Linked DNA regions of Homo sapiens: all the other regions are linked to region 2. Evidence: promoter capture Hi-C in 16 types of primary human blood cells and fetal thymus (Javierre and others, 2016). All regions are on one chromosome and are shown on one strand. Each heading gives the region's core, a stretch centred on a gene start or on the middle of the fragment in contact. The rest is flanking DNA. Distances are from core to core; before and after follow the strand shown.

Region 1 (2,700 bases), core at 137-2,636, 260 kb after region 2:
TAGAATTTTTTTCAGATTTTGGGATATTTGCAGATACTTAACCAGTTGAGCATCCCTAATCTGAAAATCTGAAATGCTCCAATAAGCATTTCCTTTGAGCGTCATGTAGGTGCACAAAAAGTTTCAGATTTTGGAGGATTTCAGATTAAATTTTTGGATTGGGGATGCTCAACCTACATTCTCAAACCCTTAAGAATCTGTATTGTATATGACAAGTCTGAAGATTATGGTTAACATGTATGCTATGTGAATTGACAAGTTTTGTATTGGGAAGGCAGCCATCATACCGTTGTTGCAACAGTTCCAAGAAGAGGATGTGCATGTTCACAGAACACCTCTGTGTCCTGGGGGATGCGCCTCCCGGGGAGGGGGGACTATTTTCAGAAACATAAGGCAATGCAAGCAATGCACACTCCAGAGCCTGTGGGTCATGTGAAGTCAAAGCAGTGTGGGGCAAGAGACCACAAATTTGCAACATGCTACAACCAGAATGAGGCCACTCTACCAAGGCTGCCCTATCCTTGGTAGTGCCCCACTCTACCAAAGCTGCTCCTCCCTGCCACAGGAGAAGCCTTGAGGAAGTCCCCTCTGGCTCTCTGGCTGTTCCTCTACGAGAGCTAGAGGGGACTTCCTCAAGGCTCCTCCTGTGGCCCACACCTCACCTCCTGGGGTTCCCTCTGGGTAGGTAGTCTCGGGTGGGATCCAGGCATCTTCAGTTTCTACAAGCACCTCAGGAGATTCTGTGCACAGGCAGGATGGAGGGAGGTAGGAGGGAAGATAGAGGAGGTGGTAGCTCAGCCACCATGAATAACGAATAAAAACTTAGTTCAGTCATTGGCAGTGATCTCGGTTTGTCACCAGACTGAGTCTGTGGTAGAAGTGGCAGTTTACAGGTGTATCTGCAGTGAATATTCAGATCCTTAGCTTAAGAAAGTGAGACCCAAGAGTATCTGAAAATGTTATAAGGCATGAGAACTGGCACTGGTATCATCAGACAAGATTATAAGAAGCCTTTTAGACTATGACAGTATGCCAAACATTACAGGAGAAATACACGCCCACAGTAATATTTGAGGAGGAAAACCAGTATAACTAACTGAGGTAGAAACAGCACTACACCAACATGGCACCCAGCCGGTTAAACATCTCCTTCCACAAAACTTTCCTCTGGAGAAGTTTGATGACCCTATGACCACCCTCATAATATCCTAGTGATCACATGAGATTCTGCAGAACAAATTCTCTACATGAACTTGGGATCTTCCTTGTCCAGATCATTTGAAGCTGTCATACCGGAAGGGGCATTCTGTGTTGACAGCAGAATGACATGCCTCATTCTCTAATTTTGATGGTCTTTCATGCTGCTGTTGTGATAGAGCCAGTGTAGAGAGGCAGCACTTCCACAAGAGCAAAAGAGAGGCTTGCACAAAATAAAATCTGTATGAAGCAAGCTGAAAACAAGTTTTTTTTTTTTGTTTTTGTTTTTTGTTTTAGCTTGGAGCCATGTTTTTCAAACTCTGGGAATGGGTTGCAAAATGGATGGAAATGTAATGACGTTTCCAGTTTTGTTTTTTGGCTGGCTTCAAAACTAACAAGGTTTTGGAAAAAGATATAAAATTCATGGTAAAGTTTACACAAATTCTTCTGATTCGGAAATGGATACTGTAGCAATTAAGAGAAAACCCCATTTATCTGTATTTGTAAATTATACATTATAAAAATCCTTCAGGAACTGAGAGTTCTTTAAAGTTCTATTGTAGAACTTTAAAACGTTTCATGCCAAGTGGCCCTAAAGCATTTTCAACAGTGATGACTACCCTTGTTTATATATAAAGATTACCCACTCAAATGTAAACTGCCCTAAATGACCTCAAGTTCTCATCAATATTCAAATCTCATCTTCGGTATGTTCATCAACAGCTGTATCCAAAAATCTATCTTGTGATAAAGTGTAGTCAATAAGCCCTATGCTCCTTAGAACTAAGTAACAGATACAAGCAGGAGACCAGGATGTTCAAGAATTGTCATCTCCAGTAAGTCTGTGGTCCTTCAAATCCAGTGGCCTGTACTTACCAGCCCTTAATGATGCCACACTAGAATTCATGAATGTGTAATGGAGCTATCCTGTTGTGAGCAGCATACATGAGAAAATAACTTACTTCTTGAAGGCTACAGTAATTGGCTATGCCCTAAAGCATGAGACTTGATTATTCTAACACATATAATTATGAAAGTTATTATAGGCATAAAATTAGCTCTTTTAAAAATGCAGCTACAGTACTACTCAATGTGACCCTGAATCTTACTTTGTGGCCACATGTAGGTGTTCACACTGACAGCAAGTATTAATCACAGACATATAAGGGAACCTTTCAGATGACTCCAGCCATGTGACCATGAGGGATGCCAAGAGAGAACAACTTGACTCCCCTAGAATTAAAAGATTTTCATTAAAAAAAAAAAAAGTGACTGTTAGTCTTTAGGCCATTGAGTTTGGGTGTGATTAATTATGCAATAGATGACTAGAAAACATGCATTTCTTAGCTCCCTCTTCAAATTCACTAAAGCCAGCAAGTGAATAAAAAGATATAACCCAAAGGATAGTTCTAGAGGAGACACAAGGTATAGAAAATGTCAACCCATTTTTGGAAGATATAACATGCAGACACAAGAAAATAATCACCAAAGTGCTTCAGACGG
Region 2 (2,700 bases), core at 8-2,507:
AGTATTGACACACCATCACAGTCTTACTGTGACACGGGCCTGTCTTGTACCAGTGTATCCAGCAGATGGCATTAGAATTCTTAAATGTCAGCTCCATACTCTTAAAACAGCACACTCCAACAGAAATAAAAAATAAATCTGTGGCGCATGCCTGTAATCCCAGCTACTTGGGAGGCTGAGGCAGGAGAATCGCTGGAGCCTGGGAGGTGGAGGTTGCCGTGAGCTGAGATTGCGCCATTGCACTTCAGCCTGGGCAACGAGTGAAACTCCGTCTCAAAATTAAAAAAAAAAAAATAAGCCCAGAGTGTCATTTTCAATTTTCTAGCAACCATATTTAAAAAGTGAAATTATAACATATTTTATTTAACTCAGCATATCCAAAATATTTCAATATGTACTCAATATATGCAAATTATTAGTGAGATCTAAAATTATTCTTCACACTAAGAATTCAAAACTCACTGTGTATCTGGTTATAGCATAATTTGGATGCTAACGTTTCATCAGGAATACTTGATCTGTATTTAGATTTTGTAAAATATGCAGTTGAAAAACACAAATTCATATCCAAGTTGTTCCAAAGATAGTTAAACATAGTAAAGTTTTTCAGTAACTGAATTGAACATCAAGTTTGAAAAAATAAAACCCAGTTCCTTAGTCATGCTAACCTTATTTCAGGTGCTCAAAGGGCCCATGCATCTAGTGCTGCTGTCCTGGACAGAGCGGCTCTAAGTGATCTGCTTTTACACGCTTTATGGTCCGACTATACATAATCCTCCCATTAGTAACTAAAGTATTGGCCAATAAATTTTTCCCAGGCATACATTAAACATTCACAATACTCTGTGGCCATGTTTAACTTGGGAGCAAGTAGTGGCAAAACCTCCTATACAAAAACGTGACCACACCTCATTCATGCCTTTGTAGAGCTAAGCAAAATGCTTTAGATCAAAAATTGCCTTGAATTATTTACGTTCATTGTAATCTCTCCTCTAGGCCTTTGTGTGTTTTGATAGAGTTCGTTTGAATTGGCTCAATAAATCATTTTATTTGCTGCAGAATTCCCAAAGAACATTCAGATCCATATACATGAGATTCCTGCTGCGTTTAGCCATACATTTGCCAGACTTGTGATGTCGTTTATTCCCTGTGAAAGCTCAAGTGCAGCCCACAGGGAGGTTTTCAGCTGACCTTGTTGTGACATGCAGATGAGGTAGTAGAGTTTAGAATTTGGAACGGGGATGGGTACTGGTCTTTACAGTTAACACAACCTGGAGTAGCCCATGCCATACTGTGTCCTTTTAAGTCAGTAAATTGAACTAAGTCGGTTATTCGGCAAGCAGTTCCTATAAAAAACTACATGGCTAAGGTGAGTGATGATCACTGAAAGGAATTCATTGACCCACTGAAAAAATGAGAGTAGATGAAACTACTGCAGTCATCCTGCCTGCCCCTGTTAGCTGGCTGAGTGAGGTGTTTTGCCCCGGTGGGCTGTGGACATTATCTTCATGTTTAAAGTGTGTGTACTGGGGGCGAGAGGCCAGGAATGATATGATGGGTGTAGGTCATTGTCTAGGAAAACTAGAAAATCCAAATGTTCAAAGGAAGTAAGGTGTTGTAGTGAAAAGCTGTCACCTGGCCTATCGATGTTCTGTTATGGTGTTTCTTAGTAAATCCCAGGCTGCATCTATATAGTCACTCATAGTAAGTGTGTGTTTGTCCAGTGGTAGGAGTGGCCAGAAATATTGCATCTGTTCCACCCTCAATTGAAACAGCTTCTTTCTCCACTGTATTTCTTTTGTTTTTGTTATTTATTTATTTATTTATTTATTTTTGGAGATGGAGTCCCGCTCTGCTGCCTAGGCTGGAGTGCAGTGGCTCACTGCAACCTCCACTCCCCGGGTTCAAGTGATTCTCCTGCCTCAGCCTCCCGAGTAGCTGGGATTACAGGCATGCACCACCACGTCCAGCTAATTTTTGTATTTTTAGTAGAAATGGGGTTTCACCCATGTTGGCCAGGCTGGTCTCGAGCTCCTGACCTCAGATGATCTATCTGCCTCATCCTCCCAAAGTGCTGGGATGACGGGTGTGAGCCACTGCACCCGGCCCTCCACTACATTTCTAATTGCCACATTCTCCCTAAGTCTGAAAGCTCACATGCTTAGTAACAGTTTGGCCAGGTTTTAAGCATTTTCTGTGGGGTGTACTGCATTCCTTCCCCCTCCCCCCCGCCTTTTTTTTTTTGGTCATTATTCCCTGCGGTTGAACAGAGCACCTCCCCGCACCCCACCCCACACCAGCCTCTCCATGCACAGCCATAGTTGTTCACGGTTTTTGAAAATCAAAAAATACAAGAGTGGACCTTGCTCCCAGCCCAGGTCTCCCAGGTTGCAAGTGAGTCTGGTAACTGTGCCACTGTCTTTGCTGGGAACCCAGGTTTTATTGCTTTTCCAAAAATAATCACCTTTTCCTTAAAAAGAAAAGGCTTTGTATCTCTGTGTCCAACTTATGATCTGCACAGGTTTCCATGGAATGTGTAATCAGTGTATACACACCATTTGGTTCTTCTTTCTTTAACATTTCTAAAACCGAGCTTCCTAGTTATTTTTAATTGTTGCCTAATAGTTCATCAGCTTAATGTACATCATTATTTCACTATAGGGAATGAAGTGGCTATAAGCATCTTTTAGTATGGTTTAA
Region 3 (2,700 bases), core at 55-2,554, 470 kb before region 2:
TTTTAGGAACCAGTGTCCTAGATCTTGTGGTTCCCAAGGTGCGGTCTCAGATCAGCAAGAACAGCATCACCTGGGAACTTGTTAGAAATGCAGATTCTCAGGTCCTAGCCCAAGGTTATTGAATTGGAAACTTTGGAAGTAGAGCCCAGGAATATGTATCTTACCAAGCCCTCCAGGTGACTCCCATGCACACCAACTTTTGAGAACCACTGTCCTACATCCTTGGTGCTCAAGATGAGCCTTGTGGACCGGTATCATCTGCACGCCCTGGAAGCTTGTGAGACAGGCAGAGTCTCCAATGCACCCCTGTGGGCAGATCTGACCCAATGAATGAGGATCTGCACTTCACCAATATTCCTAGTCATGCATATGCACATCAGAGTTCAAGAAGCTTTCTAGCTCTGTCCCCAGAGAGGTCCTGGAAGTGGTAACACACCTGGTGGCAGGAGCCCACCCAGCCCCCAGATCTTGGATTCTAAATATCTTTTAACACCAAAAGAACCAGGCTTATTGGAGAAAGGGCTGATTCCAGGGCTGGGGCAGGGAACATACCAGATGAGCCCAAAACATCTTATTGTGCCGGAAGGCAAGGAAATACCTGAAGAATGGTGGGGCTGTGTAAAAAGACACAGAACTCAGTCTGAAGGGCTCTCATTGATCAAATCTGAGATGGTCTGATAGCAGTAGATTATAACCTAGTGAATAAAATAAAAAGCCATGAGTTCATAGTTATATAAATAAATATATGATTATATAAATAAATGGGTAGGGCCAGGCATGGCGGCTCACGCCTGAAATCCCAGTACTTTGGGAGACTGAAGCTGGAGGATCACTTGAGCCCAGGAGTTTGAGACCAGCCTGGGCAACATAGTGTGATAGTGTCTCTACAAAAAAATCAAAAAATTAGCTGGGCTTGGTCGTGTGCTTGTAGTCCCAGCTACTCAGGAGGCTGAGGTGGGAGGATCCCTTGAGTCCAGGAGGTCAAGGCTGCAGGGTACTGTGATTGCACCACTGCCCTCCAACTTGGATGACAGAGCAAGATACTGTGTCAAAAAAATAAAAATAAAAATAAATAAAGTAAATGGGGCGAAGGAAAATCTCTTCCTTACAGTACAGTGGCAACTAATAAGTTGTAGAAGATGAAGTATGCTAAAACTAGTGAGGATCAGAGCACTTACATTCTAAAAGTGCCTCCCCACAAATTACTCATTCATTAAAAAGGGGGGAAAGGCAATTTTTTAGTGGAGAAACCCGGAGGAGACCACCTAAACCAATCAACCAACGTTAATGTCCCCAACGTAGGGACAAACAGCGCCACGTGCCTCCTGCTGTGATGCACTGAGGGGGACACAACATCACTTCTGTGGTGTTCCTGCCACAACGGTGTCACCTGAAAGTAATCCTCAGGAAATATCAGCAAACCCAAATGACAGGACGTCCCACAGAATAACTGGCCTGCACTCTTTAAAAAAATGTCAGGGTCAAGAAAGACAAAGCATGGCTAAGGAACTGTTCCAGACTAAAGAAAACTAACGAAACATGAGGACTCAGTGTAATATGTGACCCTTGGCCTGGAAAAATATGTGCAATTTAAAAAGGTTATTGTTGGAGCAACTGATACCATTTAACTATGCATTGTAGATTAGATATGGACTGTGGTTATATAAGCGAATGTTCTTATTCTTAGGAAGTACACACTGAAGTATAGGGTGAAAGGGCAGTATGTTCGCACTGTGCACTCTCAAATAGTTCTGCAAAAAGTGTGTGTGTGTGTGATGTGTATATTGTATACTTAGAGAGAGAGGACAGAGAATGAGGCAAAACGTAAACAATTAGTGGATTGAGAAGACGAGATTTCCTTGTACTATGCTTGGAATTTTTCTCTACGTCTGAAATTATGTCAAAATAAAAGTCATGTCCCCTCTTCCTGCAAAAGAGACCAATGAGAGCAAACACCCAAAAGGCAGTGTTCTAGAACACTCTTGCTCCTGAGTTTGGTATGACTCTCTCCCTCTGGTCATTCAGGTCCACTTTTACATCCTATGCCTCCTCTACAGGGAGGCCACACCTAGTCCCCCAACCAGTGTACCCCCCCATTCCCAGCCCTCCTCCATTACACTCCCCTGTGTTCTTGCTCACCATAGCACTTTGTTAGTATGTGACACTATTCTTGTTTATATATTTGTCTACTCATTTACTGTCTCCTCCCACTAGAAGGTAAGCTTCATAAGCATGGAGACTCTTTCTGTCTTGATAGTCCCCTCTATGTGAAATGAATGAATGCACAAATGAACAGATCTACAGATCTGAGGCTCCGTTTGCTCATCTGCAGAACAAGGGGCTTCATCTGGATTTGGTGCAACATCTGGATTCTTTCCCCGTGCTGACACTGAAGGAAGGCATCTGGCAATGGAAGAGCTACTGTGTCATGCACATCTAAAACACTCTAGGCTTTTATTTACAGTTTCTCATTTAATCCTCACCATGATCCAGCAACAGCGGTAGGAGTACTCTTATTCTGTTCCTTCATGTAGCAGAAACGTGCCGAATGCCTGTTACCTGCTAGGCGCTTAAGAAGACAGTGCTGAGCACCAGAGGCACAGCCCCACCACCACGGAGCCTGCTGGTGAGCAGGACTGGCTGAGAAAACCGAGACTCCGAAAGCTTGCCCAACTTGCTGAAGTTATGCAGCAAGGACAT

Evidence for each region. The method cuts DNA at HindIII sites, captures the fragments that hold promoters and counts their contacts. A CHiCAGO score of 5 or more calls a contact.
Region 1: a fragment that was not itself captured here is called in contact with the fragment with the promoter of C3orf20 in region 2 in 7 of 17 cell types (fetal thymus, naive CD8 T cells, megakaryocytes and 4 more); the score reaches 7.2 in fetal thymus.
Region 3: a fragment that was not itself captured here is called in contact with the fragment with the promoter of C3orf20 in region 2 in 1 of 17 cell types (neutrophils); the score reaches 5.4 in neutrophils.

What each region holds. Positions count from the first base shown.
Region 1 is chr3:14,938,667-14,941,366 of GRCh38, forward strand. No RefSeq gene overlaps it. Among named protein-coding and RNA genes, the nearest start is that of NR2C2, 7.6 kb to the right of the region's middle. The HindIII fragment of the contact is 5,767 bases long and covers 1-2,700 here.
Region 2 is chr3:14,673,884-14,676,583 of GRCh38, forward strand. C3orf20 (chromosome 3 open reading frame 20) reads left to right here and starts at 1,258. Exons shown (of 17, transcript NM_032137.5): 1 at 1,258-1,369. The HindIII fragment of the contact is 9,428 bases long and covers 1-2,700 here.
Region 3 is chr3:14,207,397-14,210,096 of GRCh38, forward strand. No RefSeq gene overlaps it. Among named protein-coding and RNA genes, the nearest start is that of LSM3, 30 kb to the left of the region's middle. RefSeq lists enhancers at 2,198-2,698, 2,699-2,700. The HindIII fragment of the contact is 1,831 bases long and covers 390-2,220 here.